5 separate regions of the Homo sapiens genome follow, and all the other regions are linked to region 1. The links are contacts of gene promoters, found by promoter capture Hi-C in blood cells and fetal thymus (Javierre and others, 2016). All regions are on one chromosome and are shown on one strand. Each heading gives the region's core, a stretch centred on a gene start or on the middle of the fragment in contact. The rest is flanking DNA. Distances are from core to core; before and after follow the strand shown.

What was found. The method cuts DNA at HindIII sites, captures the fragments that hold promoters and counts their contacts. A CHiCAGO score of 5 or more calls a contact.
Region 2: a contact is called between a fragment that was not itself captured here and the fragment with the promoter of SPOPL in region 1, in 1 of 17 cell types (fetal thymus). The highest score is 5.1, in fetal thymus.
Region 3: a contact is called between a fragment that was not itself captured here and the fragment with the promoter of SPOPL in region 1, in 1 of 17 cell types (neutrophils). The highest score is 8.9, in neutrophils.
Region 4: a fragment that was not itself captured here is called in contact with the fragment with the promoter of SPOPL in region 1 in 2 of 17 cell types (neutrophils and total B cells); the score reaches 6.4 in neutrophils.
Region 5: a contact is called between a fragment that was not itself captured here and the fragment with the promoter of SPOPL in region 1, in 1 of 17 cell types (naive B cells). The highest score is 5.7, in naive B cells.

Annotation. Positions count from the first base shown.
Region 1 is chr2:138,499,154-138,504,783 of GRCh38, reverse strand. It overlaps SPOPL (speckle type BTB/POZ protein like), which reads right to left and starts at 3,014. Exons shown (of 11, transcript NM_001001664.3): 1 at 2,665-3,014. It overlaps SPOPL-DT (SPOPL divergent transcript), which reads left to right and starts at 3,089. Exons shown (of 2, transcript NR_187149.1): 1 at 3,089-3,465; 2 at 3,904-5,630. RefSeq lists silencers at 2,329-2,378, 2,579-3,118. The HindIII fragment of the contact is 5,215 bases long and covers 315-5,529 here.
Region 2 is chr2:135,977,992-135,983,621 of GRCh38, reverse strand. DARS1 (aspartyl-tRNA synthetase 1) reads left to right here. Exons shown (of 16, transcript NM_001349.4): 2 at 168-225; 3 at 4,256-4,348. Among named protein-coding and RNA genes, the nearest start is that of DARS1-AS1, 4.4 kb to the left of the region's middle. The HindIII fragment of the contact is 4,910 bases long and covers 340-5,249 here.
Region 3 is chr2:136,035,746-136,041,375 of GRCh38, reverse strand. No RefSeq gene overlaps it. Among named protein-coding and RNA genes, the nearest start is that of DARS1, 53 kb to the right of the region's middle. The HindIII fragment of the contact is 2,833 bases long and covers 1,852-4,684 here.
Region 4 is chr2:136,052,090-136,057,719 of GRCh38, reverse strand. No RefSeq gene overlaps it. Among named protein-coding and RNA genes, the nearest start is that of CXCR4, 63 kb to the left of the region's middle. The HindIII fragment of the contact is 2,638 bases long and covers 1,042-3,679 here.
Region 5 is chr2:136,377,727-136,383,356 of GRCh38, reverse strand. No RefSeq gene overlaps it. Among named protein-coding and RNA genes, the nearest start is that of CXCR4, 260 kb to the right of the region's middle. The HindIII fragment of the contact is 1,640 bases long and covers 1,218-2,857 here.

The DNA of each region.
Region 1 (5,630 bases), core at 1,765-4,264:
ATTAAGCCCTACAAAAACTGGAGTAACTACTGCTTTAGTTCTCTCAAGAACGGTACGTAGCTAGTACTATTCTAGGTGCACAGGAGATGAGATAATTCATTACATAGCTTAGATGCCTCAGAGCATTAGGGTTTGATTTTCACCCAGAAACATGGTTGAGAAGGGCCACTCTCATGTATCCCCAATGCCTGGCACATGGTAGATGCTCATTAAATATTTTTGGAAAGAATATTTACAAAACTAAGAAACAGTGCCAGGCATAGAGTAGATGTTAAATGTCAATTTTATCCCACCCTTTCAAAGTTCTATAAGCTTTAAAAGTCTGATTCTAGGGGAGTTATTTTTCTTCAACCTGCCCTGTTTATATAAATTCATGGCCAAAAATGCAGATATAGACATTAGGAAAGCCAAGAAACTAAATGTTGGAAGGAACTATGTGGAAGCAGTGAGAGATGAAAATCAGGTAGAACCTGGATATACAGGAGAAAGAGCAAAGGTTATTCTAGGTCAGGGAACAGCATTACCAAAAACAGTGTCACCCCCAAGTATGGAACATGTTCCATGGTGGCACAAGAATGATTTTAAACTATAAATGGAAAAACATTTTTATTTTGATAGTTACATATGTACATATTTTTACATGTAATTAGGACAGCAAATAGTGATTTCAAACTTTTACTATTTAAAACAACACAAAAGTAATATCTATTCAGATCTTTTAATGTGAGTCCTTTAAAAATGTAATAAGTAAGCAACAGTGCACAAGAGGTAAGCAAATACGGCAAAAACTGTCAGCATTTTTTAAAGTGAGTAAAATTCTGTAAACACCAAGCCAAGAAGACATGTGAATATGAATGAACATAACACATTAAGAGAAAACGGCCACCAGTCTTCTGAAGGAAGACAAGCCAAAGCTCTATCTCGAGTAGTGATTGAAGATAAAGGTCAGATGAGTATGAAGAATACCACCAGTTTTGAGTATTTAACTTACAGTACTAAAACTTTTATCTGTAAAATCTCATTTTCCAGTATGATGAATCTGTTATACACAGTACTTTCACTTTGTTTATTCTCAAAACAAAGGTAAAATTGTAGAAGTTCCAAATAGACATCTGAAATAAGGACTGACCTATCTGTAGCTTGGTAGTTAGCTGCCTTGAAAATGGTGGGCTAAAACCCTGTAGTTTTCAAATCAGAAGGAATTAATTTATACAATAACAAATTATACATGCTATCTATATCAAAAAAGGTTGTTAAATGTCAAAGAATAAGAAAGTAGCTTTCCATTCCCACCTTCCTGTCTTAGAATTAATCTACCCACAAGCCAGATCAAGTCAAACCAAGAAGTGATGATAGCATTTATCAGATATTTGCCCTGTGCCAGGTACTGTTTTAAGTACTTTACTTGTATTTACTTGTGCAATTACTAGCACCATCCTGTGATGTCATATCATAACCCCATTTTACAGCTGTAAGTATACTGAGGCGAAGAAATATTAAGTAACTTCCCCAAAGCCAAAGCTGGTAGATGGCAGAGCAAGGGTTTACACCCTGGCAACTATATACTAGTCTGAGCTCTAGAGAAGAGTTCTTAACCACTAGGCAACATTTCTCACAAGAATGATGAAATGGTAATTTGAAATATTCCACCAATCTCATCGTGGCAGGAGAGATGTAATTTTTCAAGGTATGAACCTTTTACCTCTGTCAGTTTCTAGTCCAAGAAACAGTGGATTCAATTGCAAGTGGGAAAGTGAGTACCACAATGGGTCAAACTAGGCCCAAGATTATTCAAAAATAGACAAAGCATCAGAAGCCTGGAAAGAATCACTGAATGACAGAGTTCAGTCAGGAAAGAGACAAGCGAAAGTTAGGATAAGCAGATGGTGAATCTTATTTCTACTGGGTTGTGTGACTGCTTTGAGAGAGAAAATGCTACCTTCCCTTTTCTTTTATGTTGAATCAATATACAAATACATTGACTCAAAAAGAATTAGGAAAAAGGAGAGCAGCAGGAATACAAGTGGGCTCTTTGAAGACTTGGACCCCGAACCGCGCGGTTAGCTTGATGTACTCTGGTATAAGTGAGCAAAAATGTATTAGAAAGCAGGTTAAAGAGAGGTTAAAGGCATGACCACCGGACTGGAGGTAGTGAGCGGTCTGCGAAGCTGAGAACTCTGCCTAAAATGGGCTAACAGGGACGAGAGTTTCAAGTGTCTGTATTTGGGATGAGGAGGTATGAAAGTGGACGCTGCGCGGTGGCAGAGCATGCAGTTTCTGCCTTTGGGCAGCACTCAGGTAAAAAGGGGCAGGTGTGGAGGTATACAGGTATAGAGGAGGAGAGAAGCCAGAGGAAAAGAAGGGGCGAGGCCCGGGGGTAAAACTAAAGGGGATCCTGGAAGGTGGAGGCTGGGAAATCAAGGAGGGATTGGGGGCAACCCCGGGGAAAGTGGTGCCGCCGCGCGAGGGAAGGGCGGTCCGGGGGCGTGGGAGGTAGTCCCCAGAGCAGGCCGGAGCTCGCCGCCCGAGCAGGGGTCCGGGACCCAGAGAGCAGAGGGCGCAGTGAGGCGCGAGCAGGAGGCCGCCGGTCTACGGAGAGCCGGGGGAGGGGAGCAAGCGCCTGGGGCTGCCGCGGGGACTGGGGGGAGGGGAAGGGGCGCCTACCTGGACGTGCTGGGCGGCAGCGGTCAGTCCTGGTGGAGACTCCTCTCCCGCTGAGGCGGTGGCCGTGTCCGCCCTGGGAGCCCGAGGCTGCGGTGGTGGCAGCAGGGGTGATGGCGGCAAGTCCCTGTGGCGGCCGCCTCCGCCGAACCGCATCCCTCCTCCCCGACCCGCCCTCCTTCCCTATCTCCCGCTCCTAAACTTCTTCCCCGGGATAAACAAACCCGCCGCCAGGGGCGGCCACCTCCGCCACTCCCGCCCCCGCGCAGCCCCCACCCCCCCGCCGCGGGCCCGTCTGGGCTCCGGCTTCCGAGTTACGACTCCAGCCCCGGCTCCAGCCCGCGAGGGCGCGTGCGCGCGGCGGCGGCGGCGGCGGCTCCTGGGCCCTTGCTCCCTCCTACAGCGCCGGGCACTTCCGGGCGGGCCCGGATTTGCCGCCGCGCTTGGGAAGCCGCCACCGCCGCCGCTGCTGCATGGCACTAGGCTCCCGGCGGGGCAGGTTCCGCAGCCGGCACCGCTCTGGCTAGGCGCACGGAGGCGCCTTGCTTAGTCTGACCCTTATTTGGCCAGGCGTAAAACTTGTCCTGCCTAAAAGCCTACTGAGACCTCCTAACTGGTCTAATCCGCGGGAGACGCCAAAGGCGGCGGCCGTTTGTGCGCACAGGATTTTTCTTGGAGCTGTAGCAGTCTAGGAAGCCAGGGTGGAACTTTTGCTAAGCTCCCGTTGTAAGCCCAGAGCTGTAATAACTGCTGAGACACAACCAGCAGTATACAGGCTCCAGTTGGAAATCGAGAACTTTCCAGGTAGATGAAGTGCCCCATGGAGCAGTTTTCAGGTGGAGGGGATGAGGCTCAGCTGGAAGTCTCAGGCCAGAAGGAGAGGCTGCCGAGGGGCGGCCAGGGATGCCTAGGAAGTGAGCGCAGAAGACCAGGCGGCCTCCTGGGACCGCACGGTGGGAAATAAAGCTGCACCTGCACAAATGTGTGAAGAGAGGATGGGATTGCCTTGTCTCTTCGGACATTTAGTTTAAAAAGGGGGTGACAACTGAACTTTTTATTCCCCACGGCCATGGGACAAAGATACTTAATCGAGCTACCAGGAGTAAACTTCTTTAAAGAAGTTTGGGGGACCAACAATCCCGGCTTTGCCAGAACAGACATGAACGTCATTCAAGGATCCCAACTCTTTTTGCTTTAACTGTGCATACGTCAGCAATTTTTGTTTTGTTTTGTTTTTGACAGGGCTGTCACCCAGGCTGGAGTGCAGTGGTGCCATCACAGCTCACTGCAGCCTCGACCTCCTAGGCTAAAGTGATCCTCCCAACTCAGCCTCCCGTAGCTGGGACTACAGGAATGTGCCACGCCCAGGTAATCTTAATTTTTTGTGGAGACGAGGTCTTGCTATGTGGCCCAAGCAGATCTCGAACTCCTGAGCTCAAGGGATCCTCCCACCTTGGTCTCCCAAAGTGCTGGGATTTGCAGGCGTGAACCACCACACCTGGCCATAAACCAACTTCTCATTGCTTACCTGGCTTTCCAAGAAAAGAGAGAGGGCAGAGGGAAAATATTTATTATTTTGCTATGTACTGAGTATTCTAAGCATGGACTTGTATCGTCTCTGTTCTCTCAACAACCTCTCTAAAACTTCAACGTAGAAATTTCCATCTTAAAATTAAGCGACAAGAACTAGAAATGGCAAGTAATTCATCCAGAGGTTACTGGGATTTGAATACTGGACAGGCAGATCCCCCTCATTTCAAATTAATACTACATTAGCTGTCTTTTTTATTTCTTTTTTCTTTTTGTTTGTTTGAGACAGGATCTCGCTTTGTACGCCAGGCTGGAGTGCAGTGGCGCGATCCTGGGTCACCTCCCAGATTCAAGCAATTCTGTGCCTCAGCCACCAAGTATCTGGGACTACAGGCGTGAGCCCGGCTAATTTTTGTATTTTTAGTAGAAACAGAGTCTCACCATATTGCCCAGGCTGGGCTCAAACTCCTGGCCTCAAGTGATCCTCCCACTTCTGCCTCCCAAAATGCTGGGATTAGCACCTGACCTTACGTTAGCAATCCTGTTGACTTATTTAAGACAAAACGTGCTTTAAGACAAAATCTGTGCCAAAGGTTTTCAGATAAAGATAAAATTAGCAATGTAACCATAAAATTCAAAGTTGCCTTGGGCTGAGTTGGTAGAATGTTTATGCAGATCAAGGAACTCCAAAAGTTAAAAAACAGAAGTGGAAGTGAGCATTAGGGAATGGGGAAAGAGTTGGTGGAGAGAGGAAATATTTGTGTAAACATTTAACCATCTCCAAACACCAGCAAAGAACAGTTGAAACGATTTGCTATACTCACTGTCCACCCGTGTTAACTTTATGGTATGTGACATACAGCAAAAATTACATGTAATTTTTGACTAAGCCTTTTAGCTCTTTCAATCCCTTCGTAGTATGTCACCCCCTCTCTTCCCATAATTAAAAATTATAAGACACCTAGTAAATATAATACACTCATAGAATTAAGTTATAAGTCCATCAAGTACATTTCCAATTGGAAGTTAAGAGTGATGCTGACCCTTCACAGTTGACTGGGCTGAAGTTGGGAACTGATTCAATAAACTTCCACCACAAGGATGTCAAATTGCTCCTCAGGGTATTCTCAGAGAGTCTTTTCCCTAGGCTTGATCTCCTTACCCTAAGTGTTAGGACACACCATTCCTCTCTTGCTTGCAGTATTCAATGACTTTACCCACTAATAAAATGATAGTAAATAGTAAGAGTGAATATGGCTTGTAAGTAATGCTAACAAAACTGTGATGGCTTAGCAAAGTAAAAGATGGTTTTATGGTCAGTAAGTTTGGATTAAAGCTTACTAAAGCTTGATGCTTTGTTACCAGTCTGCTAAAGAACTACCTTCTTAATTTGATTTCCTACTTACTGGATACCTATTGGAAAACTAGAGAGATATGAT
Region 2 (5,630 bases), core at 1,545-4,044, 2.5 Mb after region 1:
TGTAAATGAATGAGAGATTTCCACATTATGAAACTACTGACTTTCTGAATTAATAAAATGATCCTGAAAGTTAAATTCATTTTTATATTCTATTATTAGTATTTATGTGTTTACTGTGCTCTTAGTGTTTACATAAAAAGTCACGATGCAAAAAACTTTTTTTGTAGGATTATGCTAAAGAGAGATATGGAATATCTTCAATGATACAATCACAAGAAAAACCAGGTTAGTAGCTATGTGACAGTAAATAAAGCTTTTTTGCTTTCTAATTCCAGGAAAGCTCTAAATGAAATTTTAAGTAAGGTTGGCATAAATCTGAAGGTATAATTCTGAAAAGCTTAAATGACATTAATAATCCAAGTAGATGTCATAACCCTGTGTAAACATTGTCAGTTTAGGGTTCCAACTCTAGAAAAGGAAAAAAAATGTTATTAGGTATTGTAGGTTAAATGGTATGTTTTAAATGGTAGATTATATTTTTTAAATATTCCTAAATTATTAGGTAAGATTCAACCGTTGTCTAGGAGATAGGAGAGTGGCTAATAACTGCCTTCATCACATGTAGCCTTTTTGCATGCTTTAATAAAGCTACCTCTTTTACTTCCCCCAACCCCCACAACTTTACTTCTCTGACTGTTTTTAGCTATTATTTATTCCTATTTTGCTTGACTCTTCCCAAACATTTATATTTTCACTTATTCTCTACAGCATCCTTGAAAACTAAGGAACCAAAGTTGAAAGATAAGAAACTTGACTTACACAGAGTCTGCCAGACTTGGGATTAGAACCAAAGGCCATCTGACCCTAGAGTCCATGGGTCCTTCCATCTTACATCTTCTCTGGCTTCTTTGGCAGTACTATGATTTGAGTTTTAAAGCCTCCACCCCCACTCCATTTTGTTTACTCGTAGCTTTAGTGTCTGGGAATGAAATGAATTATTCTTAGACCCCAGTCTATCTTTTCTTATAACCGCTCTTTTTTGTTAGTGTATGTTGGCATCTTTATATTTCTTTTTTTTTTTTTTGGGAGACAGAGGCTCGCTCTGTCGCCCAGGCTGGAGTGCAGTGGCATGATCTCGGCTCACTTCAACTTCCGCCTCCCAAGTTCCTACAATTCTCCTGCCTCAGCCTCCTGAGCAGCTGGGACTACAGGCGCACACCGCCACGCCTCACTTTTTTTTTGTATTTTAGTAGAGATGGGGTTTCACTGTGTTGCCCAGGCTGATCTCGAACTCCTGAACTCAAGGCAATCCACCCACCTCGGCCTCCCAAAGTGCTAGGATTACAGGTGTGAGCCACCGCACCCGGCCTTATATTTCTTTGAAATTGACCTGACTCATGTTGTTTCTCTCAGACCTGTAGATTTTTTATTTATAAATGTTTGCCTTTCTTTTACTTCTATTCTATATATGTAATTTCAACAGATTTGTCTTACTTAACTATTTGACAGTAATTTTTCTTTTGGTAGACACTTCAAATTACGTCTCTCACTCTTTGGTGCAGTAATTGTAGACGTTTACATTCTTGCCCATTGGAAGCACTGCTTCCAGTTTAGAGGGCTGCCTATGAATATTATGCTTTGGAAATAAAACACCTCTAGGTTAATTTTATTGTTATATTTGATTTGCCACATGATCACAAAATCACTTTTCTTTCCCAGGCTTGTTGGGAAAGAATACAATAAAAGACCAAAATTCAGAGACTGAGTTGGGAGGATCACTTGAGCCCAGGAATTTGAAACTAGCCTGGGAAACATAGTGAGACCCCATCTCTACAGAAAGTAAAAAAATTAGCTAGGCGTGGTGGCATACACCTTTTATCCCAGCTACTCAGGAGGCTGATGGGAGGATCACTTGAGCCTGTGAGGTCAAGGCTGCGGTGAGCCACGATCACACCACTGGACTTCAGCCTGGGCAACAGAGTGAGACCCTGTCAAAAAAAAAAAAAAGCCAAAATTTCTGAAAATCATTTCCAAAACATAAAGATGAAATAAAGTAATTGAGTACAGGTTGAGTATCCCTTAGCCAAAATGCTTGAGACCACAAAAGTGTTTTGGACTTTATTTTTTTGGACTTTGGAATATTTGCATTATATTTACCACTTGAGCATCCCTAATCTGAAAATCCAAAATCCTCCGATGAGCATCTCCTTTGACCATCATGTCAGCACTCAAAAAGTTTTGGATTTGGGAGCATTCCGGGTTTTCGGGTTAGGAATGCTCAACCTATGTAAAATAGACTATGAGCAATAGAGTATAGGGGATGATATTCCTCTGCCAGGGCAAGCAGGAGGAGACACTTGAGACTTTGTTTTCAGGTTAGGTGTCTTTCTCAACTGTACTTCCTTGAGCTGTAACACAAAGAAGCTCACTGGAGTTTAGGTCTTTAACATAGGCCCAAAGCAGCCATTAACATAATTGCTGTTGTTCTTTTGCTGGCAAATCCACAGACAGTTGCGTTCTTCCACTTAGAGAGAAAGATAACCTATGTATGTAAAATTCGGCCTTTGGTTTTACCTCTGCAAAAATGCCAATTCTTTGCTCAAGGTGGTTTCCTTTCTCATCTGCTTCCATTTCTCTGCATTAATCACTCTGATGCCCATGACTCTTAAAAGTGCAGTTTTCAAACTGAAATCCTACTACCTTGGTTGTTACTGGTTAGCCAGTCATAGTGATGTGAGTATGGCATGGGCTTCGGGTATGTTCGGGTGTATTAAAGGTTGAGAACCCCTATGCTAGTTAATTGCCATGCCACAAGAAAGAAGAGCCATTACCCTTTTTCTTCTCCAAAGTGCTAGTAAAATTATCCTAATTATCGCATATCTCTTAGACTTCTGCTTTTCTGTTTTGTGTGGTTTTGAGTTGTGATTGCTTGGTTAGCCATTGCTTTTTCAGTCTTGGCATTTTCAAATCTGCCTTTTAAAATCTTCTGCTGATGTGTCTGTCTTTTCTCTTTCACGCTTTCTTTTGCCTGAGTTTACACAGCAGACTTGGAAGTTGGCTTAACTCATAAAGTCTGTTGGCAGTGTTTTGCAGAAATCCTCTTGTGATGCCAGTGGCTTTAAAATTCCTCTTTCATTCTCTTTGCTTTTGGCTATGAGAACCGTGTTATTTATTCTCCTGTAAATCAGATTCTCTCTGCAGCTGCATCTTTTCTTCAATAGGCAAATTATAAATACATTTAGAAAAATTCGGTAAGACATACAGTATTTATAATTTGACTTTATGTCTCAAAAGGTATTCTCGATATTGTAATGTCATGTCTATTGCTATGTTTAATTTAACTAATACTTAAATGTTTTTCTCTAATCAAATGATTGCATTTAGAAGAGTAGCAAAAATGATTGTTGAATGTTGCGTTGTATACACATCTTTACATAACAGTTGTTTTGTAGCTGTTTTCCTGTTTAGGAACTCTAGATGAATGTAGTATTTTGTTTAGTATTAGGAGCATAATAGTTGGGGCTCACTTACAGCCAAAAGGCTCGATAGGGAAATGTATGAGATGACATCAAGCATGATTGGATCTTGGGGCTCAGGAAGCATCTACAGGCCTTTCTCTCTCCAGCTTTTGGCTCTGTTTCCTTTAGGATATTGGCCTCCTTCTCGAATCCTGCAAACATAGCAGGAAAGGTGAAAGCTGCAGCCCTGGGCCTGCACCATGTCAGCGCAGCAATCCCAGGAAAGAGAGCTTCATTCCCAGCATCTGTATATTTAGTCCCAGAGAAAGACTTGCATTAGCTCAGTTAGAGTCACTGCATCCTGGGGAATAGGATACTGCGACTGTTCAGACTTGGTAGAGACTAGCTGACTTAGGTACTGTGGCAGGCAGGCAAAAGTTCCATGTCCTAGGCAGGATAGGCTGTGTTTGGCCTTACAAGTCATTGAAGTGTTCAGATTTGCATTTTGAAACTGTCTGACTTCAAAGGAGACTGAATTAGAAGGGGACACAGGGATTGCAGTTAGGAAGCTATTGCTGTAGTTCAGGTGGGAGACAATAGCTTGGTTTAGTATGGCGGCAGTGAAGATGGTAGAGAAATAGACGGATTTTAAAAATATGTTTAGAAAGCACAGTTCACAAAACTTGAGGCAAATTGCACATGGAACATGATAGAGAAGACAGTGTTGTCAAAGATTGAGAATTATTCAGGATGGTTCCAAGTACTTATGCTAGCTGTCAAAAATAATTATGATCTCTTTGTAAATTCTGAATTTAAAAATTATTTTACTATATAAAAATCGTTTACTGTTATTACAGATCGAGTTTTGGTTCGGGTTAGAGACTTGACAATACAAAAAGCTGATGAAGTTGTTTGGGTACGTGCAAGAGTTCATACAAGCAGAGCTAAAGGTAGGATTGGTTTCATTATTAAAGCTCTTTCGGTAAGGACTCCGAATTTTTTGTCTTACATATTCCTCACAGACCAAAGTAAATCTTTAAAAACAAAACAAAAACATGTAACTTTTCTTTCTTAAAAGTCACTGTAAAGTATTAACCCATGGTTAATCAATTTTAGATTCCTGTAAAACATCCTTACAAATAATTTGACCCTAAAGACTGATGAAATCTAAGACTTCAAGCTACTTTTCTAGCATCGCTCTAAAGTTTAATTATTTTCAGCTGGAGAAGGAGTAGCTAAAAAAAAAAAAAAATTGAAAAAAAAGAGTAAACTTTAATTATTTAAGTGAAGAGTGTTTTTGAGAAACTTCCCGTTTGTTAATATTTTTATATTTGTAATTATCTAGATGAGGAGAGAAGTGAACAAAAGATAAGACTGGGCAATTCAATACAGTAACCACTGACCACATGCAGCTATTTACATTTAAATTCAGTAATTCCGTCACACTAGCTGTATTTCAAGAGCTTAATGACCACATGTGGCTAACGGCTCCCATTTTGGACAGACAGCACAAATACAGAATATTCTCATCATAGAAAGTTCTTTCAGACAGTGCTAAAAATTTAGCCTCAACAACAGAGAAGAAACGTTAGGATCATTTAGACAGACCCTGTTCTTATAGAAAATTGGCCTACTGTAGTGTTCAGAATTGTCTAAAAATATCAATTGACACACTAGTTTATAACTTTATACTTTTCATACTTTTTCACATTTGATCATCCCTGCAAGTTTGTGAAGTAGGCAGAACAAGCATTCCTATTCCACTTTATAAATGAGGAAACACGTTCAGAATGAAGCTACTTGCCCAAAGTCTCATAGTAATTGGTGGAGTATAAACAGAAGCTAGAAGCTTTCTAAGACATCTCCGTCTCTTTAGCAGAGTTCTTTGCTTCTGTAGTATTTAATATGTCCCATGATAATAGCATTTTTTAATTGTGTTTTATAATATTTTTATTGTAGAATTAATACATGCCCATTATTTTAAAAATTCTACTTTGCTTCTATAGTATTTAATATGTCCCATGATATATAGCATTTCTTTCCTTTTTTCTTTTTTTCTTTTTTTTTTTTTTTTTTTTTTTGAGACAGAGTCTTGCTCTGTCACCCAGGCTGGAGTGCTGTGTTGCGATCTCGGCTCACTGCAATCTCTGCCTCCAGGGTTCAAGTGATTCTCCTGTCTCAGCCTCCCAAGTAGCTGGGATTACAGGCATGCGCCACCATGCCTGGCAAAGT
Region 3 (5,630 bases), core at 2,019-4,518, 2.5 Mb after region 1:
TAAATGCCTAGTAGTTTGCACTAATCTAGATCACAATAATATCACAAGTAGATTTACAATATATTAAATAACCAATTGACTCTACCTTTTTTGTGAATATAAAGTTTTTTTCAGCAGGTAACAGGCATGATTTTAAAAATCGGTTTAGAATTCCCCAAAACATTGTTCCTATTTCTCTGAGTGTCTCCACCCATGAAACAAAACATAAATCTACTCTAGTTTGCACAAAGACATCTAACAGATAACAATGTATCGGAAGGGGTATGTATTTATATTCAGGAGTGCCTGTCTGGAAAACAGAGGGGACTATATCAGGTCTGATCTTCAAGTCTGTCTTTTAATTAGTTTGCCTCAAGTACTTGTTCTCTGTGTGAGAATCCACCTTATTTAGCTCAGGATGATCACGTTATGAATGCAGGAAGTAATGGCTATTCTGGCTATTTGCAAAGACAAGGCTTGGATACATATTCTAATAACACAGTATGAAATAGAGTAAAGGAGTGTTCTTAGGTGGGACCTTTATCAGTGTTGTCACAAATGGTAATGAGTCAAAGCTTAATAACGATGTGCCAAAAAGGTTGTCTTAGCAAAAATAGCAAAAACCCATCCTAGTAGAATTCATCTGTTACTCTACAGGCAGATTTGTGAAAGCTTCAGCAATTTTCTTCTTGCCAAGAGAACTGGCTTTGCTGTCCAATTGTTTTCTCATAGAAAGGGATTTTTGTTTTTTATCAACTTTTTTTATATATTGATCATATGTTAAATATTACATATTTCTCTTTGGAATCTTAATTAAAAGATATGCCTTGTAAAAAGAGCTTTATTGAGATATTATTCACATGCCACACAACTCACCCATTTAAAGTAGACAATTCAATGGCTTTTAGTATATTCACAGAATTGTGCATCCATCACCATGATCAGTTTTAGAACACTCATTACTCCCAAAAAGAAATACCATACCCCACAGCCACCCTCCCATAGTCTTCCCATCCTTCAAGTTTTAGGCAACCACAAATCTGATTTCCATGTCTATAGATTTGCCTACTCTAGGCATTTCAATAAAATGAAATTCTACAATTTGTGACCCTTTGTGACTGGTTCCACTCACTTAGCATAATACTTTCAAGGTTCATTCACATTGTAGCAGATATCAGTACCTATTTCTTTTTGTTGGCTAATAACATGCCATTGTATGAATATATCACCTTTTATGTATTCCTTAATCAGTTGATGGATTTGCATTGTTTTCATTTTGTGAATATTATGAATAATGCTGCTATGAATATTTGTATGCAAGTTTTTGTGTGGACACAAATTTCATTTCTCTTGGGTCTGTCTATAGTTAGGAGTGGAATTGCTACAACATATAGTAACTATATTTCACCATTTGAGAAACTGCCAGACTGTCTACCAAAGAATTTACCAAAGCATTTATGTTCCTGCCAGAAGTGTATGAGAATTCTAATTTCTCCACATACTTGCCAACACTTGATATTAACTGTCTTTTTTATTATAGCCATCCTAGTGGATGTGCAGTGGTATCTCATGGTGGTTTTGATTTGCATTTCCCTAATAACTAATTATGTTGAACATCTTTTTTATGTGCTTATTGACTATTTGTAGATCTTCTTTGGAGAAATATCTATTCAGATCCTTTGCCCATTTTAAATTGGGTTGTCTTTTATTATTGAATGGTAGCAGATTTATATTTTAAAAGGAACCTCAATATGTAAAAACTAAAAATTCAGTTAATATATATTGAGCACCTGTTATGTGCAGTGAAGGGCAGTACCATGTGTGCAAAAGCCACAATACGTGTGCAGAAGGGAAAATATGCATTAAGAAGCTTACCATTACTAAGGTGGATAGGGGTGTGAGACAAATAAACTAGTAGAGGAAAATCATATCAGCTTAGAAAATCAAAAGGGCTTTGTAGAAAATTTGGTATTTTTGGTGGGTCTTTAAAGTGGGGAGAATTTTGACAGAGAGATGGGAGAGGACATTTTGGGCAGAGAGAACAGCACAAAAGGGGCACAGGGACACTGGTGTTTAAGGCATGATAGGAGAACAGCAAGTAGTTTTTTGGCTAGAGAATGGAATGAGCAAAAGTCTAGGTGATGAGACTGGGAAAGGTTAGACAGGAACATATTAGGGAGGCGTGTCAGGTTGAAGAGTCTGTGTTCAAATCTCGAAATCAGTAGTTCTCAACTGGGCATAATTTTGGCCCCCAGAGAATACTTCACAACATCTGGGGATATTCTCGATTGTCACAACTGAGGATGCTACTATTAGTGGGTAGAGACCAAGGATGGTGCTAAGCACCCTACAATGCACTTCAGCCCCCTATAACAAAGAATTATCTGTCCCCAAATATCAATAGTGCCAAGGTGAGTCTGACAACAACCTCAGCTTACCACTTGGAGAGAATTTCCATGCTGCAGCACATAGAGAGGGACCCAGGCAGTGCCCAGGGCCCTTTTAAAGAAAGTATATTGACATGTTTAGAGAGAAGAGAGGATGGAATCATATAAGATGATCAATTAATAACAGAGAAAGCAGAAAGGGAAGGGAAGATAAATGGGATGGAAAAAGATATACCATGCTAACACAAACCAAAATAAAGCTGGAGTAACTGTACTAATTTCAGACAAGCCAGAATTTAGAACAAGGAAAGTTTTCAGCAACGAAGAAGGACACTGTGTAATGATAAAGGGGCTAATTCTCCAAGAAGATGTAACAATGCTTAAAGGTATATACCTAACAACACAGCATCAAAATACATGAGGTAAAAACTGATAGCACTGCAAGGAGAAATAGACAAATATTATAATTGGAAACTTTAACACCCTTCTTTCAGTAATTGATAGATCCAGCAGGCAGAAAAACCAGTAAGGACATATTGTAGTTGAACTGAATAGTACCATCAATCAACTGTATCTAATTAACACTTACAGAGTACTGCATCCAACAACAGCAGAGTACTCATTCTTCCCAAATTCACATGGAACATTCAATACAGACCACATTCTGGGCCATAAGATGTGCCTAAGCAAATTTAAAAGAATAGAAATCATACAAAGTATGTTCTCAGACCACAATGGAATTAAACTAGAAATCCATAATAGAAAGATGGTTGAAAATCCCAAAATATTTGGAGATTAAACAACACACTTCTAAAAAGACAAATTGAAAAGAATGAGATCATGTCCTTCGCAACAAGATGGATGCAATTGGAGGCCCTTATCCTAAGCAAATTAACACAGAAACAGAAAACCAAATACCACACGTTCGCTTATAAGTGAGAGCCAAACATCAAGTACTCATGAACACGAAGATGACAACAATAGACACTGGGGACTACCAGAGCCAGGAGAGAGAGGGGCAAGGGTTGAAAAACTAAATGTTGGGTACCATGCTCAGTGTCTGAGTGACGGGATCATTCAGACTCCAAACCTCAGCATCATGCAATATACCCAGGTAACAAACGTGCATGTATACTACCTAAATCTAAAATAAAAGTTGAAAAAGAAAAAAAAATTATACCAATAACTCACAAAAAATAAAAATAAAAAGACAAATCATACCAAATATTAGTAAAGATGCTTAAAACCGGACCTCTGATACCCTGCTAATGAGAATGTAAAATAGTACAACCAGCTTGGAAAACCGTTTCATGGTATCTTAAAAAGTTAGACATGCCAGGCGCGGTGGCTCATGCCTGTAATACCAGCACTTTGGGAGGCCAAGACACTTGAATCATTTGAGGCCAGGAGTTCAAGACCAGCCTGGCCAACATGGAGAAGCCCCAACTCTACTAAAAATACAAAAATGAGCTGGGTGTGGTATCATACACCTGTAATCCCAGCTACTCAGGAGACTGAGGCACAAGAGTCCCTTGAACCCTGAAGACAGAGGTTGCAGTAAACCAAGATTGCACCACTGTACTCCAGCCTGGGTAACAGAGAGAGACTGTGTCTCAAAAAAAAAAAAGAAAAAAGAAAAAAAAAGTTAGACATAAACCTACCCCGTGATCTAGCCATTCTAATCCTATGTATTTACCTGGAGAAATAAAAGCATATATCTATATAAAGACTTAGCCGTAAATGGTCATGCAGTTTTATTATAATAGCCAAAAACTGGAAACAACCAAATGTCCTTCAATGGGTATACGGACAAACAATTGTGATATGTCCATACAATGGAATACTACTCAGCAATAATGAGGAATGAACTGTTAACGAATGCTACAATCTGGGCGTGTCTCAAAATAATTCCTGAGTGAAAAAAAAGCCAGACAAAACAAGAATGCATGTTGTATGGTTACTTTCATATAAAATTCTAGGGAATGCAAACTAATCAACAGTGAATGCCTAGAGATTGTTGGGAGGAGGAGGGGATGCGTAGGGTAGGAGGCAGGGATTAGAAAGGGGAACAAGACAGTGCAGGGCTGTAATGCATATGTCCTTTATCTTGATTGCAGCAGTGGTTTCATGGGTGTATACATGTGTTGAAATTTATCAAATTGTACACCTAAATATATGCACTTTATTGCATGTCATTTATACTTCAAGAAAGCAATTTTAAAATACATATAATGCAAATATTCAAGAAAATTGAATTTTATATAATACGAATATTTCTTTTGCATGGAGGCAGATTAAGGCATTTTTCAATCTAAGCTTATTTTACTGGTTAGTTCCATTGTTTATCACAGACCACCGAAATGCTAAAAGTATAGTGAAAAACTAACTCAGCACCTTATCTCATTTTGTTTTGTTCCATGAATTATTCCTTTGGTAAATGTGTGTTTTGTTATGAGGGTAGCTGGGTAAGAGTATGTAGACAGAAAAGAGGCTCAAAATAAATGATGATAGGTCATTTAACATTATCTTCTTATACAAAAGACAGCATATTGTATTTCTACAAATACGTATTTTATATCTACACTTTTACCAGGCATCTTCTTGCAAATGTCAGCTTCTAGAGACAGAAATCACATTATTTATGAGTGCTTCATAGAGCATCTGGGGCCTAAACATGCTATTTGATGAGAAAGATGTTTCAACCAAATCTTAATTTTGCTCTCAAAAATCTATTTACTTATTTTGCAGCTGCTTAAAACAAGTGTGGACTTTTAGGGCTCTAAAAAAGGCAAACGAGCAAACAGAACCCATTCTTTTATACACCATCTGAATATCATGAGGTTCATTTTGCGTGACTACGTTTTAGATTCTGGGCATGTGGACCTTTATTTACTTTCTTAGAAGCCTTAAGTACTCTCACCTTTGCAGGCTTTCCCTGGCGATCTGTTGATGGCCAGTTTAGTTATGAGTTTCTCAACCAAAGGGTACTTTACTCAGGAATTAACGTGCCTCAGCCTGTCACCTCTAGATATCATTAGCTTAATCACATTTTAAGCTTATTTCACTACATTGAAAGGAAGAGAGGAAGATTAATGTTTTATAAAGCCCAAGTTAGGTGAATATATTAAACAAAGCAATGCTTCCAAAGGTTTCCATTTTAACAGGTCACATAAATAACTTTTCTCCAATGAACCGGCTTCTTTGTTTCCCTCTTTTATGAGTTGGCTTTTCTTTCTTGACATCTTTGAAATAATCACCCATTGA
Region 4 (5,630 bases), core at 1,111-3,610, 2.4 Mb after region 1:
TAGCTGTACAAAACAGACTAAATCAGTCATCTAATTAGTCGATAAGCATTTGGTAGGACCCACTGGACTCATTGCTAGTTACAGATTTGCCAGCACGGTAGAGCTATTCCTACAGTCTTGCAACTCAGGGGACCTTATTCCTCTACAGAAACCAAGTTCTAGTTGCATGTTGACCCAAGTCAGCATCAGGTAGATGGCCAGCTGGGCTAACAAGTCATCTGACAAGCTCTTATACAATCAACACATTGCCTCCTACTTGCCTTCCCATCTCCGAGGCAACAGGGGTAGACCTGAAACTGGCTGCCAAGTGCCCCCACTGTCAGCCTCTGCCCTTTTGTGACATTTTCCTCATCTCCACCTTTGTCTCACTCCCTCAATGCTTCTACCCACACTTATCCACTGCTGTCCCTAGTGTTGACACTCATACTGATCAAGGCCACCCTTGAAATTTCATTTTTACTAGATTTTGTGTCTGCTGTGACACTGGGGCGCAGATATATCACCCTCAGAAGACCTGTGAATAGTCGCTACAAAGTGTGCTGGCTGAGATGAAAGGAAAAATGGAGTTAGCATTTACCGAAACTGGTCAGGCTGAAGTGGAAATCCCCAAAGAGACAGATGCAAAACATTCTACTGTTTCTAGAAGGGATGAAGAGATCTGTGGAACCAAAGTGGGGGTAGGGAGCAGGAATATAGTGTAAAGTTAGCTATATGGTGAGAGGAAAATGAGCTGAAGGCTACATTTCTTTAGATGAAAAATAAAATTTTTCAAACATGCAGAATAGCAAAGGAAATAATCTAATAGTGCCCAGATTAAATAAATGTTAGTATTATGCCTTTTTGCTCTCTTTTATTTTAAAAAATAAGATGTTACAGATCTAATTGAAGCTCCCTTGTAATCCTTCTGATTTCATTCCCCCCACCACCCCCTGCCAAGTGCAGATCACTTTCAAATAGAATGAGAGCTACTGAGTCATCATATTGGGATTATTTTTTATAGACTTTCATTGGTTTTTGCTTCACATCAAATATTAAAAAGCTTTGTTAAACAACTACCAATTGGTTAAAAAAAAACGGTTTAAAATAAAGCAAATTCTATTTCTTATATACCACACCGTGCTCAAATGAACCAAACCTGGTTTATGTAACACTTCTTAGAAAAGGTGACTCATTTTACAACCGAAAAGAAATGGAGCTTTAGCATGTCTTCTCCTACATATCACCCGTTATGCCTCGGAAAAGAATCTGCCCCTCTGGGACCCATTTCTGAAATTTACCACTTACAACACACACTTCACATGTGGTCTGTGTCACTTCTGTAGCTAACTAGCATCTTGTCCTAAGAACATTTCTCAGTGTATAAGTCAGCAGGGGTTGGTCTAAGCACTTTGTGTATATTAACTCATTTAATCTTTACAACAACCTAGTGAGGTGGATACAGTTACTATACCCATTTTATAGATGAGAAAACTCATCTGCAGAACTTACTGGTCATTGTATTTTTGTGAAGGAATCATGTGGCTGCCAAGAGTTCTTGTGTGCAGAGTAAACTGTAGCCCTTCCTATTTTATGTTATTGCACTATGTTAATTACTGGGTCTTTAAATAGCCTGAGACTTCTAACCATCCAGGCATTGTGTTAATGCTTGGCTGTATTGTAGCTACTTCCTTGACTTTCTTCAAATACAGAGTTTTCATTTCTTCATAGAGAACACACTAGAAAATTAATGTTTCATAAGGTCTAGATCGCCCATTTTTCACAAAGAAGTATGTTAGTTACTCACCTTTTTGAGCCGAAGGAGGGGCTGGGGCTCTAGAGAAGGTATTTACCCACTGGCACTCAGCAGCAGCAGGACACAAGTCATATGGATGCAGCGGGAGAGGAAGGAAGGATGGTGTCCCTTCAGCCATGGCGCCTCTCTGTCCTCTCCCTTTCATTCTACCTCTGGCCATCCTTCCCTCCCCAACTGGCCTGGCCAACCCATAATCATTCTTCATGGCTCAGATTAACCCCACATCTCCAGGGAAGCCCTCCTGGGCAATTATAGCCCACATTGGTTCTTCATCACATTGGCCTTAATGCTGTGTAATTATTTCATTTCCTTCCTTCTTCTTCTATTTTTTTTTTTTCTTTTTTTTTTTTTTTTGAGATGGGGTTGTACTCTGTCACTCAGGCTGGAATGCAGTGGTACAATCATGGCTTACTGCAGCCTTGACCTCCTAGGCTTAAGCAATCCTCTTGCCTCAGCCTCCCAAGTAGCTGGGACTACTATGTGTGCCACCATACCCAGCTAATTTTTAAATATTTTTTATAGAGACTCTGTGATCTTCCTATGTTGCCTCAGCTGGTCTCGAACTCCTGGACTCAAGTGATCTTCCCACTTCAGCCTCCCAAAGTGTTGAGATTATAGGCATGAACCACTGTGCCTGGCCTTTCTTTCTTCTTTTCTTCTTTTCTCCCTTTCTTCCTTTCTTCTTTCCTTCTCTCCTTTCTTTCTTTCCTTCTATTTTTCTCTTCCTTTCTTTCCTTTTTTCTTTTTCTTTTTTTCCTTTCTTTCAGTGACTGGCCAATGAACGCCTAAAGGTTAGAGATAATATCTTATACTTATGTATACCTAGTAACCACCACCACAAAAATCACTGGGGTGCTGGTTATTTCCTGTTTTAAGGCTATGGAGGGGAGCATGTGGAGGGGACTGGATGTAGAAAGAGAGGTTATCATCATGGTGCCCTACCCAACCCACCCAGAAGAGGAAGACGGTGTTGCTTTGGAACTGTATGGCTACTCAGCCTTCTTCCAGCCACAGGCGGGGCAATACTCCTTCCTTCCACTCCAAGCAAGAAATAATATGGACATGTAAGGGATCTTCAAATGCCTTCTTGTGCTGGTTTACAGGTGGCTCAGCAGGACCTGCCATTAGATTCCTACCTGATAATAGGAATTAAGCATAAGACAAAGGTAGCAGAGTGAGGGGGTTAATAACATGGACTCTGGAGCCAAATTTACTGAGATCAAATCCCAGCTCTACCACTTACTAGCTGGGTGACCTTGAGCAAGCTGCATAACCTCTCTTTGTCTCTGTTTCTTAATCTGGAAGCCCAGGGTAACCATGAAAGCACCTATCCCATAAAGTTGTCATCAACTTTAAATGTGTTCGTAGTCACAAAGCACTTAGAGCAGTATCTCATACAAAGGGGGACTTTACAAGTGTTTGCTATTATTATTCATGTCCCCCTTCTTCTAGTGTTTTCTTTTTTACTAAAATGGAGCTTTCATTCAGATGGCTTATCTTATAGCTTTGCACACCTAGGCCTCCTAGTGTACATGAATGATTTTTGCAAAAGCCATCAGCAGAAAAGCCTTTCAGCCTAGCATGGTGGAAGAGGTCTGGCAGACCTGAGTTCAAATGCCAGTGTTACTCCCCAGCGTTGCTGAGTCTCAGTAGTCTCAATTTCTTTATCTGTTAAATGAAGCTAATAATGCTTTCTTCATATTAACATTGAAACAGTTAGAAATAATGCTGGATATAATCACTTGTTGGCACACAGTAGGCACTCAATTAATGTAGCAACTTTCACCATCCCTGTCATCATCATGAGTTGAGTTTCTCTCAGGTGTCATAAAGTACTTAGCACACAGCTAGAACTTATTTACAAAAGATAGCTATTACTTACAAGCTTGAGGTTCATAAGGTCTTCTACAAAAGAATGCACAGCTTTCCCATAAAAGTTGACATGAACTTTGTAAACATATTATCATACAATTCTAATGCTTCTACCAATTAACAACAATATGCTGGCGAAATCTAAAATCAATTTTTGCATCATGTTTATATTTTAAACAAATCCTCAGGCTTCACTATAATCTACACACTGAAATATGCATTTAAAACCATTTTCAGGGGGCTGGGCACAGTGGCTCATGCCTATAATCCCAGCACTTTGGGAAGCCAAGGTGGGTGGATCACCTGAAGTCAGGAGTTTGAGACCAGCCTGGCAACATGGCCAAACTCTGTCTCTACTAACTGTACAAAAATTAGCCAGGCATGATGGTATGTGCCTGTAATCCCAGCTACTCAGGAGGCCAAGGCAGGAGAATTGCTTGAACCCGGGAGGCAGAGTTTGCAATGAGCTGAGATCTCGACACTGTACTCCAGCCTGGGCGACAGAGTGAGACTCCGTTTCAAAAAATAAAAATAAAAAATAAAACTATTTTCAACAAAGAAAGGCTTGGCCTCAGTAGTAACTAAAAATGGCTGCTCTATTATAGGCAGTCGCAGGCATCACTATTTTAAAAGAGAAACCAAGCACCAAAGGAATATAGCAAGAGGTTGTTCAAGAAGTACATTGCCTAAAGAAAACATTGTGATGAAAAAGCAATTACTCAAAATCTTTTTGAAGTTACAAGTTACAAGGGATTTGTTCCTTTGAAATCATTTTAAGAGTTTAAAAAACTTCTTAGAAAAAAAATAATGAATAGCTTTAGCCTTATTCAGTAGACTCTTAATAGAATCATTGCATGTTACAGCTGTAATGAATCATCCTAAAGATAATTTTAGGATAGTTGCCTCCCTTCACAGATTAGGAGCTCAAGCCCAGAGAGGTGATAAAAGTAGCACAGAATCAGTCTTTTATCACCTCTTCCACTGCCGCTCACCTCTCTGGACCTGAGGTCTCACATTGACTCTAAACTCAAAAGCTAGTGCATTTTTTCTCTGAGTTTAAATTTAAATAAATGTGTCAATTGATGTACATGCACCCAAAAGAAGATAATTTACACCTCTGTAAAGGAGGTGTGAGAGATTAGCAAGGTGTGAGATTAGCGAGAAAAACATAAAAGAGCAGGAAGGTCGAGAACTTTTTAACATAATTTTGTTTTATCAATGTCTTAGACTACTTCATCCATTGTGAAAATTTTTTATCTAAAAACTATTAAGTCAAAAACATATTTTTTGGTGAGGACTATAAAGCTTTGACTGCTCAAACATATGAACTCACCAAAAGGCACACCCTGAGTATTCGAGTCAGGTGGATTATAGGAAGAGCGCCAGAGCCATGAATTGTATTAGTCAACCTGATATCTATGGTCATAACGTATGTTTACGGAAAGCCCCTTTATTCACAGCTACTGAAATAGAGTAAAGCCTTCACAGATGATGGAGTACAAATTCTGTTCTCTGTTCTGGCCTTCTTGATGCTTTGAGCACTCAGCCTCCCAGAGGAAACCAGCCAGTACCAACGTGGACAGCTCAAAAACGGTTTCCAACAGGTGTTTCCACGGTTGCTTTTCACTTTTTGGAACTTTGTAAAGGGCTATCAGAACCAGGATTAGACACACAATGCAGAGGCAAAGCCAATTTTTTTTCTCCATTGTCCCGATATGACTTTTTTCCCTGGATCTTTCATCCTGTGTATGGGAAGGCACTCATCTGGACTATGTGAAAATTATTTGGGGAGGGGTGTTGCCAAGGCAGAAGTTCTTTCACAGGGTGGAGAGAGTAAGTTGCTAAAATTCTTATCTCATTCTCCCTCTCACGGAGCCTCCTAAGTCTTCTGGGAATAGAGAAGGAAAGTGGAGATCACCCCGTCAAGCCAAGCCCAGCTCCCTCTGTGTATTCCACTCATGATTAA
Region 5 (5,630 bases), core at 788-3,287, 2.1 Mb after region 1:
AGATGGACTATAGACATGCCAGCATACGTATGGCCATGGGATTAACAAAACATGCCACATGGGCAAATAGAATCAGGTTGAAAGAGCAGTCCAGACCACCCTGAAAAAAAAAAAAAAAGGCCTAAAGGAAGAGAGAACTTGGAGAACTGAAGAGTGAAGCAGGCTTTATAAGAAGTGAGGCCAGGGCTGTGGCTAAAGTTGAAATTTATACAGGCAAGAATGACTGACGGGGTGGAAATGAATGGAGGGGGTACACAAAGTGTGTGTATTTAGAGGACAGTAATATCAGGAAGCAGGGCAACTACTTTTCCAGTGGTCTATGCCTGGATGTGAAGGGAGGTGTTTGAGGAAAAAAGAAAGCCTGTCTCCACTTCAGTCCAGTGTTATTTCATCTCTCATCTGAACTCCATTCCTGTTTCATTTATCTTGCTGGTCTCCCAATCTAAATTAGGTTTTGCCCCATTGTACAGTCTCACAGCATTCTGAACTTTAACGTCACAGCAAAAATCTTAATTATACATGCAAGTAAGCTGTTCTTTCTCTATTGCCTCTGTCTCCTGCAGGACTGAAAGGTCTTTGAGAGCAAGACCTGCAACTGTTTTATTCACTGCTGAATCCCTTGCACCTAGCATATAGTAGGTGTGCAGTAAATGTCCAGTGAACTACTACATGAAAATCAGGAATATATGAAAAACATGTCTGTCTGATGGCAGGGCCGCCTTCCAGGGCACAGTTGCTCTGGCTGCCTGGGCAGCTTAACTCAAAGTCAAGTGAGGTCGTCAGTGACAGGTGCAACCACCACCCAGGCCGAAACTTTGGAGTTTGAGTGTCACGGAGAGTGAGAATGTCCTATTTCTGTTTGAGAAACACCACCACCAAGTTTCGTCAGCAGACCCTGCCTTTGACGCTGCACCACATCCCCTCCCCATTTCCTCTCAGTCAAAACGGAAGATGCTTTTCTTTCCAAACAAACTTCTCTTGAGCTTCAGGGCCCTCCCAGACCTCCCTAAACCCACCAATCCCAGCACCCTGCCTCCTACTCAGTCCTGCAATGAGTGACTTTGTCTGTACTCATTCAGATCCATACACACCCTGTGGTCGGCTGTGTTTGTTTCTGTTTTTAAAGGGCTGAAGCAACTGAGTCTCAGAAAGAGCAGGTGACTTCTTGAAGGTCACACAGCTAAAAGCCCCGTCAAGGGCATCCAGAGCATAAAGCTTTGTCATGACGCTAGTTGCTATTTAAGTGCTTGCTAGACTCTGCTAAGTGCTTCCTCACATGACCCCTGCCGATCCTCACACCAGCCCTGTGAGATGAGTATATTATGAAGCCCAGTTTATCAGAAGGCCTAAGTCACGAATTAGTTGGATAACCAGCTCAGGGTCACTCTGCTTGAAGTCACAGATCTGATTCTAACTCGGGACCGAAGCTGACCACATAGCCTCAACTCTCCCCTACATACTCATCACATGGCTGCTGGATGATTTTTCTCTGCTTCAGATTCTCACTTATTCCACTGGACGCTCCTTGAGCAATGGAGTCACATGGTGGGACAGGTGGCCCCTGGTCACTGAAAGGCATTCCACCCAGAGGGACCCAACTTCAGGAAGTAACAACCTCTAGCACCCCCACACCTGCCTCCCTACTTTTCTCCACGCCCCTTCTTTCTTGCTCTCCCATCCACTGCAGGCCCCCACCAGGCCTTTCCTCCCTGAACCCAAACTCTCCTCCTCCCAATTATCTTCACACCAAACTCAGCTGGTTTTCTAGGGGGATGCACCTGACAAGCACATTGACTGTGACTAGCACAGCACCTACCCCAAATATGGGGCATCCCTTTACAATTCAAGCACATCTTATTTCAGCCAAATCTACAGGGACCATTTCTGTCAATTCTGTAGTAAAAATTTTATAGCCCGGGGAGTTTCTCCACCAGGGGCACATGTACTTGCATTTTAACACAGAAAAACCTTAGGAGGGAGAAGAAGGCCCCAAACATGAAGGCTGTAAATATGGATGTTCACCTCTTAACCTCTCCTGGCCCCAGCCCTCTGAAGCTGGAGACTTAAGAATAGCTGCTATAGGGGGCCAGACATGATAGCTCAAACCTGTAATCCCAGCACTTTGGGAGGCCAAGGTGGGAGGGGATTACTTGATGTCGGGAGTTTGAGACCAGCCTGACCAACATGGAGAAACCCTGTCTCTACTAAAAATGCAAAAATTAGCTAGGCATGGTGGCGCATGCCTGTAATCCCAGCTATTCAGGAGGCTGAGGCAGGAGAATCGCTTGAACCTGAGAAGCAGAGGTTGTGGTGAGCCAAGATCATGCCATTGCACTCCAATCTGGGCAACAAGAACGAAACTCCATCTCAAAAAAGAAAGAAAGAAAGAAAAGCTGCTATATATCAAGCATCTACTCTGTGCCTTGCCGGCCATTTTTACTTGACCCCTAAAACCACTCCATGCAGTAGGTTGCATTGTCCCAGATTTACAGGTTTTAAAAAATGAGATCCAGGCTGGGCACAGTGGCTCACGCCTGTAATCCCAGCACTTTGGGGGGCCGAGGCAGGTGGATCACTTGAGGCCAGGAGTTCGAGACCAGCCTGGGAAACATGGCAAAACCTCATTTTTACCAAAAAAATATGAAAATTAGCCAGGCGTGGTGGTGTGCATCTTTGTCCCAGCAACTTGGGAGGCTGAGGTGGGAGGATTACTGGAGCCCGGAAAGTCAAGGCTGCAGTGAGCTGTGATCGCACCACTCACTCTAGCCTGGGTGACAAAGCGAGACCCTGTCTCAAAAAACTAAATACATAATAAAAACGAGAGCCAGAGAATAAATAACTTCCTGACTCCAAAGCTTTGCGTATTTGCCACTACAATTGGCTGCCTCCCTGATTCTCTTGGTGAGACTTAAGATTTTGCAAAGCAAAACCCAGCTCTTACCTTCCCACCCGATGCAGGCTAGAGGTTCGATCAGGGAGCCATTTATATTCAGCAGATAGTAGAGCCTGCGTACGATGTACAAGCAAACATTTGTATTCTAATCTGTGATTAGAGTTCTACTTCCAGCTCTGGAGTTCTTACTATATAATTGTGCCCACAAATCCAGTTTGATTTGCTGTTCTGCTTATTTATTCTTTGCATTGGAATTGTTTAGAGTCATTGGACTAACCAAAATTTTTAAATGGCAAATTAAACAAGAGGTGAATGTGCTAGCGTTGGAGCCATATTGATCCAATAGAACACGAAACAGGTCTTTTAATGTATGGATGAAATCTCCAAAGCTATTGACAATTTTCTGCCATGCTTTTTAATCATCACATGCTTGCTCTGGCTTTTGAATTGCCTAACCTTTGGGTGGTAAAATCACAGCATGTTATTTTAATCTCTTTATAATGGACTAGAGTTCACTTCAAATAAACATGTCTCCCTGTGCCCTTGGTAGGAGGCAGGCAGGGTTGAGAGGCAGGGAGTGTTGAGAAGCAGGCTCGTAGCCACATGGATTCCCCAAAAAGCCTGAACTGCACTCTCCATCTGAAAACCACATGGGCTTCTGGGCCTGCTGCTCTTATCTCTAACACTGGGTTCCCAAAACACAGTCCCTGGAGCAGCAGCAGCAGCATCACCTGAGAAACTGTTAGAAACGCAAATTCCCAGTCCCTTACTCAGACCAACCCCCATGTCATGCCATACAGTGGCTTACCAATAGTATTCACACAATAAATATGTATGGCTTACTGAGTTCCTAACACAGGAAAAGGGAACAGAACAGCAATGAGTATAATGGAGCACAGAATGGACCTTGGATGTCTTCGCTTCACATTTGCCTGGGGTTGGCTTCTATTCCCCAAGACAGGGGTTCTCTAACTTGAATGTGCATCCGAATCATCTTAAAACACATATTTCTGGGCTTCACCTCCAGAGTTTCTGACTCAGCAGGTCTAGCTGGGAGCCAAGAATGTGCATTTTAACAAGTTTCCAGGTGATGCTGATGCTGCTGGCACACCTCACTTAGAAAGCCACTGCCCCAGAGGCAGGAGTCACCTGTCTCCAATTTCTGCCTCTTTTTCTGGCCTTGGATACTATACATATTTTTAAGGCCTTCCCTCTCCAAACTTCTCAAAACTTGGCTCAAAAGATTATCTAAAGGCTGGTCCAAAAATTACTAAAACCAGAAGAAGAATGGATGTATTCTCTTTAAAGAAACAGACAGGACTCTGTCTTAATAAGAGAGCAGTTACTTATTCAAGAGCTAGGAAAGGAGGGATGGCACTGTTGTTAGGGATTCATGGTCAATTTTTTTCTTCCATGCAGGTAGAGAACATGGGTTCTTGATGTCTGGTTTCTTTTTGTAAGGTTGCTCCAAGGTCCCTGGTAGGCTTTAGGGTTTGCCCAGCCACAAGATGGCAGTACTCAGCCAGCATTCACATGAAATGCAATACTGGCCCCCAGACTCCTCTTGCTCTTCAGATGATACCCAGAGCAGTGAACTGATGCATTTGATGCAACCAAAATAGGCTCATTTTCCTCCTGGGAAACCTGGCATTGAAGAAATTCTCCATCTAGTAAACTCAGACCCGGGAACAATGACCCTAAACAAGATTACATGCATGCCATTTAGTGTCTAAAGACAGAGCCGTTTCCCACACTCAAATGAGGAAACAAGAGGCTAACTGGTCATATGGTACCAACAAGACAATGAGGCAGAATAATAAATCTGTGGGCCTCCCCAAATATCTGTGAATATGTGGCCATCTCAGTTACAAGGCAACTAATGGTGACCTAAAAATAGATATCCATTGAAAGATGCATTAAAAATGTTATATCCTAAGCAAAGTGGAAAGTTGCCTCAAAATATATTCTCTGATGGTTAGTCAAAACACGTTGTATTATAAATAAATAGCAAGCATCATTTTCCCATGTCAAACGTGGCGACTCATGGTTTGTGAGCTACAATAGTACTTACTAGCAATAAGCATCTGTGAAATGAAGGGGCTCCCAACACATCCAGAATGTATGGTGGCACAATGAGAATTCAGAAAATGCCATTCTCCCCTCTCTGCTCAATCTCCCACCGCTGTCATCTTTACTACAGGCTTGATCTGAATTTAAATACATAAGATTTGGGCTCCACCCACATACTTTCCACCCAAGTATCTCAGAAACTGATACTCATGATTCCCGCAATTCCAATGAAACTGTGGTTTTGTGCTGAGATTATCTGAATAATTGCTTCCATTTTTCTTGGCCTTATAGACAGAACCCCTAAATTTTGTAAGACCCTTTTCTTCATCTACTGTTCACTAGACCAGTTGTTTCCACGCTCAGCTGATCAACAGAATCACCCACGGTCTTATTTTGGTTTTTAAAGTACAGATGCCATATCACCTTCCACCTACTGATTTTAAAATTTTGGAAAGGAGGTGGCAGAGCTAGAAAGTGGTGTTGGTTTCTAGCATATGTGTAGGAATAGTAACCCAACTGAGGGGGTTCCAATGAGGTTTAGAAACAGCTGCACTAGGCAACACTGCTTTTCAGACCTCAGAGCACTTTCTCACCATATTCAGAATGTCCCATGGGAGCAGTAGGAGGGAAATCTTAAAACTCTCCAGGCTCTTCTTTACAGAGAAGG